Linked DNA regions of Homo sapiens: regions 2 and 3 are each linked to region 1. The links are contacts of gene promoters, found by promoter capture Hi-C in blood cells and fetal thymus (Javierre and others, 2016). All regions are on one chromosome and are shown on one strand. Each heading gives the region's core, a stretch centred on a gene start or on the middle of the fragment in contact. The rest is flanking DNA. Distances are from core to core; before and after follow the strand shown. Region 1 holds the start of LAMB4 (laminin subunit beta 4). Region 2 has its middle 4.9 kb from the start of LAMB1. Region 3 overlaps LAMB4 (laminin subunit beta 4).

Region 1 (2,900 bases), core at 226-2,725:
ACATATAACAGGAAAACCCCTCAAGATATAATCAAATCACTCAAGAATGCAACAAGCTTTTAAAATTTACATATCTCAAAAGGCAAAAAAGACAATATGAAATTCCAATGTTTGAAATAAGTTTAAAAATTATATAAATTTTAATGCCTAGAGTTTATGCTTTGCACAATAATTTAAGAGTCTAAAGGGAAAATAGTATTGGTCTAATAAAACAGATCACAAACCCGTCAATTGAACAAACTGAAAGTCCCTTGATTTCACTCACACACTTTGCTGAAGTATCCACCTAAAAACCAAATACTGCTCTTTGGTCTCCTACCACCTGGTACTTTGTGGCAGCTGTTGGCTTGTAAAAAATAAATAAAACAAGTTAGTTTAGCAAATATTGACTGCAAGCTTCTTCTATACTTCATCCTAAAATGGAAAAGACATGTTCCTGCCCTCTTGGAGTTTGCTTTCTAGTACATCAGAAGTGAGCAGATGAACCTGACCTATAGGGAACAAAATTAAAAACAGTGGCATCGATGGAAAAATAGAGCAATAAATTAAAACACAAATAACAGGTAAGAAGCATTGAAAAATACCCTTGAAAAAGCTTAAAGGCCTGTAAGAGTGGTATTTGGTGAAAGTTTGTTGAATCTATTTCCTGATTTGTAAATGTTGTGTAAAAATGAGCATCTCATTTTGGCTCAGTTCACAATCATTTTTCTTCCCTAAGGGTATTTTCCATGAGCTTCTAGAAATCCTAAATGTTTTTTCAAGCAACCAATAAACTTACCCATTGAAACTGCACAGATTTGAAATGGAGATATTAATCCACTGACAAGTGAATAAAATGTAAGATTGCTGTAGGTTCATTTCTATACTATAAACCTTCCTCGTAGGAGAATGAAATTTCAAACCACATGGATTCCAAAACCACTTAAACTTGCCATTCCCACAATGGTTAGTTGTACTTGCCGAATCACAAGGTAAACAGAAATCTATGAGCCATTTAAGATGATCTTGAGCCAGGTAGGACTGGTCAGAGCCTTGGGAACCCATCTGAAACTATTCCACCTGGTCCGCCTGAAAGTAGATTGGGATGGAGTCAGGGGTCTCACATTCCTGAGAAACAAGCCCATCTAATTCCGCACATTTTATAGCTGGTAAGTATCAAGCTGTCTGAAAATGACCGCTAAAACATGAACCAGAAAAACATAAATAAATCAGGGAACAAAATGTCTGTGCATTATTCCTGGCTATTAAAATTGGTTTTAGAGAAAACAAGAAAAATATTTGCTGTAAAACTGAGCTCTATTTCCCTGTTTATGTGTGTGTGTGGGTGTGTGTGTGTGTATAAGTTAAAACTTAAGTGACTTCACAAATCACCTTTTTGACAGGCATTGGAATACCTCTTGTCTTTTTTTTTCCCTACTTTTAGGTGCCTCGGGGAGAATGTTTTCTACATAAACTGGCTCTAACTTTCAGGTGTGTCTTCACATGCCCCGTTTGCTGCCTGAACCTCTCCACAAAGACTCCCAGATCCTGGTAAGTCTTGCCTGCTCTCTCACTAGCAAATTGGCATTTTTATGGATTAAATGAAGGTATTAGAATTTAGGGGGTAAGTGGAGTTGTCATAAAGTAAGAAATGGGACATATTAGCACATAGATTACTATTACTTTTACAGAATGATAGTCCAATGACACTTAAATAAAGGTTCTTGCAACATAAAACAGTATCCAATGGGAAAATTGATGTTAGTGCATTGTGATATGAAGCCAACAACTTGAGCCTTACTGTACCTTGAAGGGAGCTTCAAATGATGTAGTGTTGAAATGTACAACTGTATTGTGTTTTCAGCAAATGTTTGTTTTTGTTATGGTTATAAAACTTATGACAACTTATAAAAGTTTAAATGCATTAGAACTACCCATATTTTCAAAATATTTTGTTAATGTTCTAGATATGTGTAAATATTGTTTTAAGAAAAGCAAGTCTGCTATAACTAAAAGAAACATAAACTTGGCCGGGCATGGTGGCTCATGCCTGTAATCCCAGCCCTCTGGGAGGCCGAGGCAGGCAAATTGCTTGAGCTCAGGAGGTCAAGACCAGCCTGAGCAACATGGCGAAACCCCATCTCTGTAAAAACTATACAGCCGTAGTGGCACATGCCTGTAATCCCAGCTACTCAGGAGGTTGAGATGGAAGGACTGCTTAAGCATGGGAGGTTGAGGTTGCAGTGAACCAAGAATGTGCCACTGTACTACAGCCTGGGTGACAGAGGAAGACTCTGTCTCCAAAAAAAAAAAAAAAGTAAACTTTATAGTTCTGTATTCTGCATTCCTCACTATGATGAAATTTAGGCAAAACAGTTGAAATATCTAATGAGTCCTGACATAACATGAAAAAAAGTTAGACAAAGGAAAGTTAAATACAAGATTTCTGAGAACTGTCACTTTATAGACAATTATTTGTGTACCAGAAAAAGTCTTAAGGGCTAATATAAATGTATTTATAATTATCTTCTGTGTTATAAATTACTGTCCAATTTGCAGAAGAAAGGTGCTGTAGTAGAAACAGGAGCGGAATGCATGTCTTTCCTGCGGAGAGGCTCTTATCAAACACGATGCACCTGTGGTTCTAGGAGCTGGGCAAATGGGCACCACATGGCCCTTTTCTCTTCATCTGTTTCATCCAAATTGTTTTGACAAAAAAGAGTAAACTCTTTGCAGCCTTCAAGTGAGAGCAGATGAGGCAAATATAAGTGAATGGTCAGTAAATTAAATAAATTAGCAATGCCAGAAAGTTACTTTCAGTCTAATATATTTCACTGTTTATTGCAACACTTAATACATTTTAAGACCAGTGTCATCTAGCAGCATTCATTAAACGGCTACCAAAATGCACCCAGCGCCTT
Region 2 (2,900 bases), core at 254-2,753, 120 kb after region 1:
CACTCTGTAGCCCAAGCTGAAGTGCGGTGGTGCGATCTCAGCTCACTGCAATCTCCACCTCCAGGGCTCAAGTGATTCTCCTCGTGCCTCAGCCTCCCGAGTAGCTGTGACTACAGGCGCATGCCACCATGCCCGGCTAATTTTTTGTATTTTAGTAGAGACAGGATTTCACCATGTTGCCCAGGGTGGTCTTGAACTCCTGAGCCCAGGCGATCTGCCTGCCTCAGCCTCCCAAAGTGCTGGGATTATAGGCGTGAGTCACCACGCCTGGCCAACAAATGACCATTTTTAAGACAGTGTTGATAAAGTCCTGCCTGCATCAGTCAATATGCTGCAGTTTTTTTAAAGCCTCCTAAATTTCAGGCTAAAAACAACAAGTTTAGGTCTCTCTCATGCTACATGTCTAGAAAAATGTATTGGCTAAGGTAAAGTGTACTGGCTTCAGGTATAGCTGGATCAAGATACTCCAAAGTGTTCTTCAAGGACCCACCCTCTGGTTCCCTCAGATCTTCTTTCCTTTGTGTTGGCTCCAGTCTCAAGCAGCCTCCACCAGTTCCAGGCTGACATTCACATAACTCCCAAGTCCAGAGGGAAAAAGAGGTGTTTTTTGTTTTTTGGTTGTTTGTTTTTTCCCAGGAATTCCAACAAAAATCCCAGAGTCATCTTATCTAGAATATATGAGTTTCATATCCATCCCTGAACCACTCACTAGAAAGAGGAAGATGGAAATGCACTGAATAGCCTGGAGTTCATGGGGGAATTAGCCCTATTCAAATCAAGTAAGCTGAAAATGGGAGAGGACTAGTCCCTCAAGGAAAATCCAGCCAATGTTACCAGATGAAGGGAGGATGAATGTTAACGCAAGCCCAAACTACTGTTTGCATTATATGGTTCGAGGCTTAAAATGTTGTGACTTCCTGCCTGGTTTCAGGCCCTGATGGTTTTCCTATTACAGAGGGTAGCAATAACGTCCCCTGTGTGTTCCCTTAACAATTATAAAGAAGGTTACTCAATTTTATTCATCCAACAAGCAGATATTGTGTGTCTATAATATACTAGAAACTGCCACCTGACGGGAATCCAAAGTCTAATGAAAGACAGTCTCTGCTTCTGGGAAGAAGGAAACTAAAACAAAACTACAAATTACTGTTGTACGTATTATAAAAGACATATATATATATAAAGTATAGCATGACATTTGACCTGAATCTTACTGGTCATTGAATTTACTTTTCTAGATCAATTCTGAATCTCACAAAATGCACTTAAATCTAATTTTTAAAACAGAAAAATCTAGTATTTTTCATGAGAACAATGTTATATAAATAGCCACATTTCAGGACCCAAAGATTGAAGTCTAGAATGTAGCATCCTTGTTGTTCTACTGTCAATCAGGATTTCAAAGGAGACACACACGGTGTTCTAAGACTGTGTGAAAGTGAAGGTGACCTTGAAAACAGTTCTTGTTTTGTTTTCAAACGAAAATAATAAATGCTGCAGGGAGATAACTGTCACACATTCTTTGAGACAGAACAGCCAACAATTTGCAATCCCATCTGCCATTTAAACTGCTGCAGAATTCTTTGGTAAAGACTGCTTTATGCTAAAGCAGGTAGTGCCAGCTTAGTACAAATGATAGACGAGAGAGGGTTGTGTTGACAGCCAGAGCAAAGCCCTGGACAGGCTTACTAACAGAAGAGATTCATTCCTCCTCAACTTGTCACATCTTCACAAATCAGAGGAAATTGTATGAAATATAATAGACGAGAAGAATTTGTGAGTGAAACTTGGAATTATTCCCAAAATTAAGTCAAGTGGTGGTATTTCTTTTTCTCTTTGGCTAGAAATTCATATTAAGGTAGAAAAAAGTGGACATTTAAGATTTAAGGAAGTTTTTAAAACATGGAGACTAGTCTTCATTTACTTTCATTCGAGACACACTTATTGAGCACATGTAATGTGCCTCATTTTATGCAAGGCAACATTAATGCAAAAACGAATGTTACACAATACTTGTCCTTGTCTCACTGTCTATTGGGGGAGATAAGGGCATAAACAAATAGTTACAGCATTATGTTATATATGCTGTAACAGGCTTTTACAAGGAGGAGGAGAGAGAGGCTCATGGAGAAAGTCATGTTTAAGAGGAGTCTTCAAAGGTGTGCAGTTCACTAAGTTGACAAGGTCAAGGAGGACCCACGTAGTGAAAGGAAAGCCATGAAGGAATAAAGTATGTCATACACAGGGAAGGAGCAGAGGGCAGCCATTGAAGGCTTTTGAATAAGGGAATGACATGATCAAAGTTTTGACTCTGAAAAAATCCTTCTGCGGGTATTAGGAAGGATTAGACTGAAGAGAGGAAGAGTCTGGAAGTAGGAACACTTGTCGGGGGCTCTGGCAGGCATTCAGACTGAAATCTAAGGGAGGGCAATGAGGTTGGAGCAAGGGGACATGCTGGCTAGTTGCTAGGAAAGTAGAAATGACAGGACCTAGTGATGGGGAGGGGAGGGAATGAAGGAACGAGAGGTGCCCAAGATTCCCAGGCTAGGCTGGCTTCATGGGCATGTGATTTGTGCAATTGCACAGCACCCCCTACCCCACTCAGGAGAGTCCCATGCTAGGTTTAATGCTCTTTCACTGTCTTTACATTAATAATAATAGAGGGGCTCCACATTTGTGCCCTGCTAATCATGCAGCCAGTCCTGTTCCCAGATCTCCGTCTTGAGCTAAGGGGTGGATTATGGTGCCAATAATTGAAATGGGAAACAGAAGACAGAACACATTTTGTTGTAGGAGAGGTGGGTGGAGAGATTTCAGTTTTGCCACAGATGAATTTCATTTACCTATGGGTCATCAAAGTAGAGATATTCAATGGCCTGTTGGAAATGGTATGTAAATTC
Region 3 (2,900 bases), core at 288-2,787, 78 kb after region 1:
CCAGCCAGGGTCAAGCTGGCAGGTGACAACAGGCACATCTATACTTCTCTAAAGACTTCTGGGCTGGGCACAGTGGCTTTCCCCTGTAATCCCAGCACTTTGGGAGGCTGAGGCAGTAGGATCACTTGAGGCCAGGAGTTCGAGACCAGCCTGGGCTACATAGCAAAAGGATCATGTGAGCTCAGGAGTTCAAGGCTGCAGTGAACTATGATTGTGCCACTGCACTCCAGTCTGGATGATAGAATGAGACCCTGTCTCTAAAAACAAAAAAGCAATACAACTTCTGCGTTGCAAGATCTAGACCCCTATGTTAACAGATCTCCTCAATTTTCAAGAGATGTCAGACATCCATATTTTTACTGAACTATCCCCACTTCAAAATGTATACAGCTAATCCAATAGCACTTGTAAGAAGCCCTACTGTATAGCCCAAAGAAAACTTGTCTGAGAATGAGCTTTGGCCCATGGACCACAAGCTTGTGGTTAGACACCATTAGGAAAATGTCGGACAAAGCACAAAGAAAGCAGAATGAGCCAATCCACCATGGACGTTCTGGACAGAGACTGCAAGAGCCACAGGCAGAGCCAGAGAGAAAGAGCGAGAAAGAGGAGTGCCCAGCCCAGGTCTGGAGTGAGGAGAAAGCAGTGGCTGCTGAGCTTCTTCAACCAGCAGCCCAGAGGCCTGTTCCCTCCTAGCCCACCTGCCAAACTCCTACTTCTCTTTAACAGCCACACAAACATCACCTCCTCCCTGAAGCCTTTCCTGACTTCCTCACAGAGAAGCCTGTATTTCCTTCTCCATCTTCTCACCTCTTTATGCTCCTTTGCCATTGCCTCGCTGTGGGGCACCCTGGACAGGGCCTGCCTTCTCACGTGCTTGTCTTCTCCAGGCCTCATGTAGTTCTATTAAAAAAAATGTTGCTGGGTAAACTACAGGTGGAAGGGGAACAGGAGGACAAAGAACCCCAGGTGTCATGAGCATAAATTCAGAAGTCAAACTACCCGGTTTAAATCCACTTACTAAATGTGTGGCTTTCGGCAAGCTACTAAACTCCTCCAAGCTTCAATTGCTTCATCAAAAGAGAGAAAGTCTGGATTTCATAGGATTCTTGTGAGAATTACTCAAGACCCATCACTTAGCATAGTGTCCGGCATATGTAAGTGCTTAAGGAGTCCCAATTAGAGTAATTATCATTATTTTTATTGTTATTATTGTTAGCCTGAAGAATTGCAGTTGTGACAATTGGAGCCTGAAGGAAGAGTCTATAGATTAGAGGGGAGAGTTACAAAAGAAAATGGAAGGAAGCATTGCCATTGTGCCAAGATAAATTAGTCCCATAAATTCATTTTATAACTTCCCCCAACTGTACACTTCAAGATTTGCACAGTTTCTCCATCATGAGGAATGTGTTCATTATCCCCTCGAAGTAACAGTAGGTGCTAAACCCAGCAAATTGAAGCACAACAAAGGTGTACCCCATCAAAGAAGAAGGTGATGGAAAAAAACCCAGGGGAACACTCACCAGCAAGAAAACCTCCCTGTCACTAATGGAAAATAAGAGTTGGGACCCTGAACAGAAGTTACACTAAAAAGAACCTTGCTGAATGCAGATTGATTCTAAATGAAGACCTGATTTGACCCCAGGCTAAGTAAACGGTTCTATTTTACCATATGTTGAAAGCCAAAAGCTCCCTTAGATTGATTTAATTGAAGCATGTCTGAATGCATGTTTTGAAACCCAAAACGAAGAAAGACAGAGCATAAACAGTCAAAATGGAATGATTTGAGAGCCTTTATTCTACTAGACCTGGTATGCTGTCCATATTTTAAATGAATGTTGCAATAGTCCAGGAAGGTGAATTAAGATGAAAGAGATGAGACATAAACACAATTATAAACCGTCAAATGAAAAACTCGAGTAGAAGGAATCCCTTCTAATCAAGAATTCCTAACAATGAGGGCAATTTTGGTGGCATTTTTTTCACCAATATATCAAATGTAATACAAGCTTAACTACATTTACCCTTATTTCCTCTATAGAAGACAAATCATGCAGCTAAATGAACAACTGAAAGCAGTGTATGAATTTCAAGATCTGAAAGATACAATAGAAAGAGCAAAGAATGAAGCAGACCTCTTACTTGAAGACCTTCAGGAAGAAATTGATTTGCAATCCAGTGTCCTTAATGCAAGCATTGCGGGTAAGGGAAAAATGTATTTTTGACTGTGTCTGCACAAAGTTTGATGAAATCCACAGTGCATTCCATTAGTGAGTCGTCCCCTGCTTACCACCATAGTGCCTGAGCACTTTAGAACATGCAAACACAACCATTAAAGGTATTATTTGTTCATGGATATTTCAACTTTTTAAACATCACAGAGCCTGGCTAGCATTCACTCAAAAATAACAAGTAAACAATGTCTGATATTAAACAAATGCTAACACCCAAAGTAATCTAGTGCCAAACCCATGTAAGGGGTCTTGAATAATCAACAACTTAGAAATTCTAATATGGCCATAAGCAAATGAGAGAGACATGTTTATATGCCTTTCTCGGTATAGGCCACTCCATTTTCAGTGACCATAAATGCAATGGAATGTGAGGCAAAAAAAACCCCACAATATTTCTCATAAGAGCTTTGTAAGAATGAGAGTCATGCAACATACTACACACCCTTAACTCATATTGCATAGTTCTTAAAACTGAATGTGAGCTATGCCTAAGCCAAGATAATTTGCAAGAGAAATGGAACTCTAAAGCAAAACTTTTGATTAGTTCATCTCCTATTCAAGATCATACCCCTGTTATATTTGGAAATGGACAACCTGTTACTACTGAGAGAAGCATCACTGAGTTTATTCACACCTAAGCCATCCAATTGAGAGACAGATGGAAAA

Evidence for each region. The method cuts DNA at HindIII sites, captures the fragments that hold promoters and counts their contacts. A CHiCAGO score of 5 or more calls a contact.
Region 2: a contact is called between a fragment that was not itself captured here and the fragment with the promoter of LAMB4 in region 1, in 1 of 17 cell types (endothelial precursors). The highest score is 5.3, in endothelial precursors.
Region 3: a contact is called between a fragment that was not itself captured here and the fragment with the promoter of LAMB4 in region 1, in 1 of 17 cell types (endothelial precursors). The highest score is 5.2, in endothelial precursors.

Annotation. Positions count from the first base shown.
Region 1 is chr7:108,128,936-108,131,835 of GRCh38, reverse strand. It overlaps LAMB4 (laminin subunit beta 4), which reads left to right and starts at 1,475. Exons shown (of 34, transcript NM_007356.3): 1 at 1,475-1,530. The HindIII fragment of the contact is 5,422 bases long and covers 598-2,900 here.
Region 2 is chr7:108,006,606-108,009,505 of GRCh38, reverse strand. No RefSeq gene overlaps it. Among named protein-coding and RNA genes, the nearest start is that of LAMB1, 4.9 kb to the right of the region's middle. The HindIII fragment of the contact is 4,097 bases long and covers 1-2,900 here.
Region 3 is chr7:108,051,399-108,054,298 of GRCh38, reverse strand. It overlaps LAMB4 (laminin subunit beta 4), which reads left to right. Exons shown (of 34, transcript NM_007356.3): 26 at 2,042-2,202. Among named protein-coding and RNA genes, the nearest start is that of LAMB1, 50 kb to the right of the region's middle. The HindIII fragment of the contact is 948 bases long and covers 1,064-2,011 here.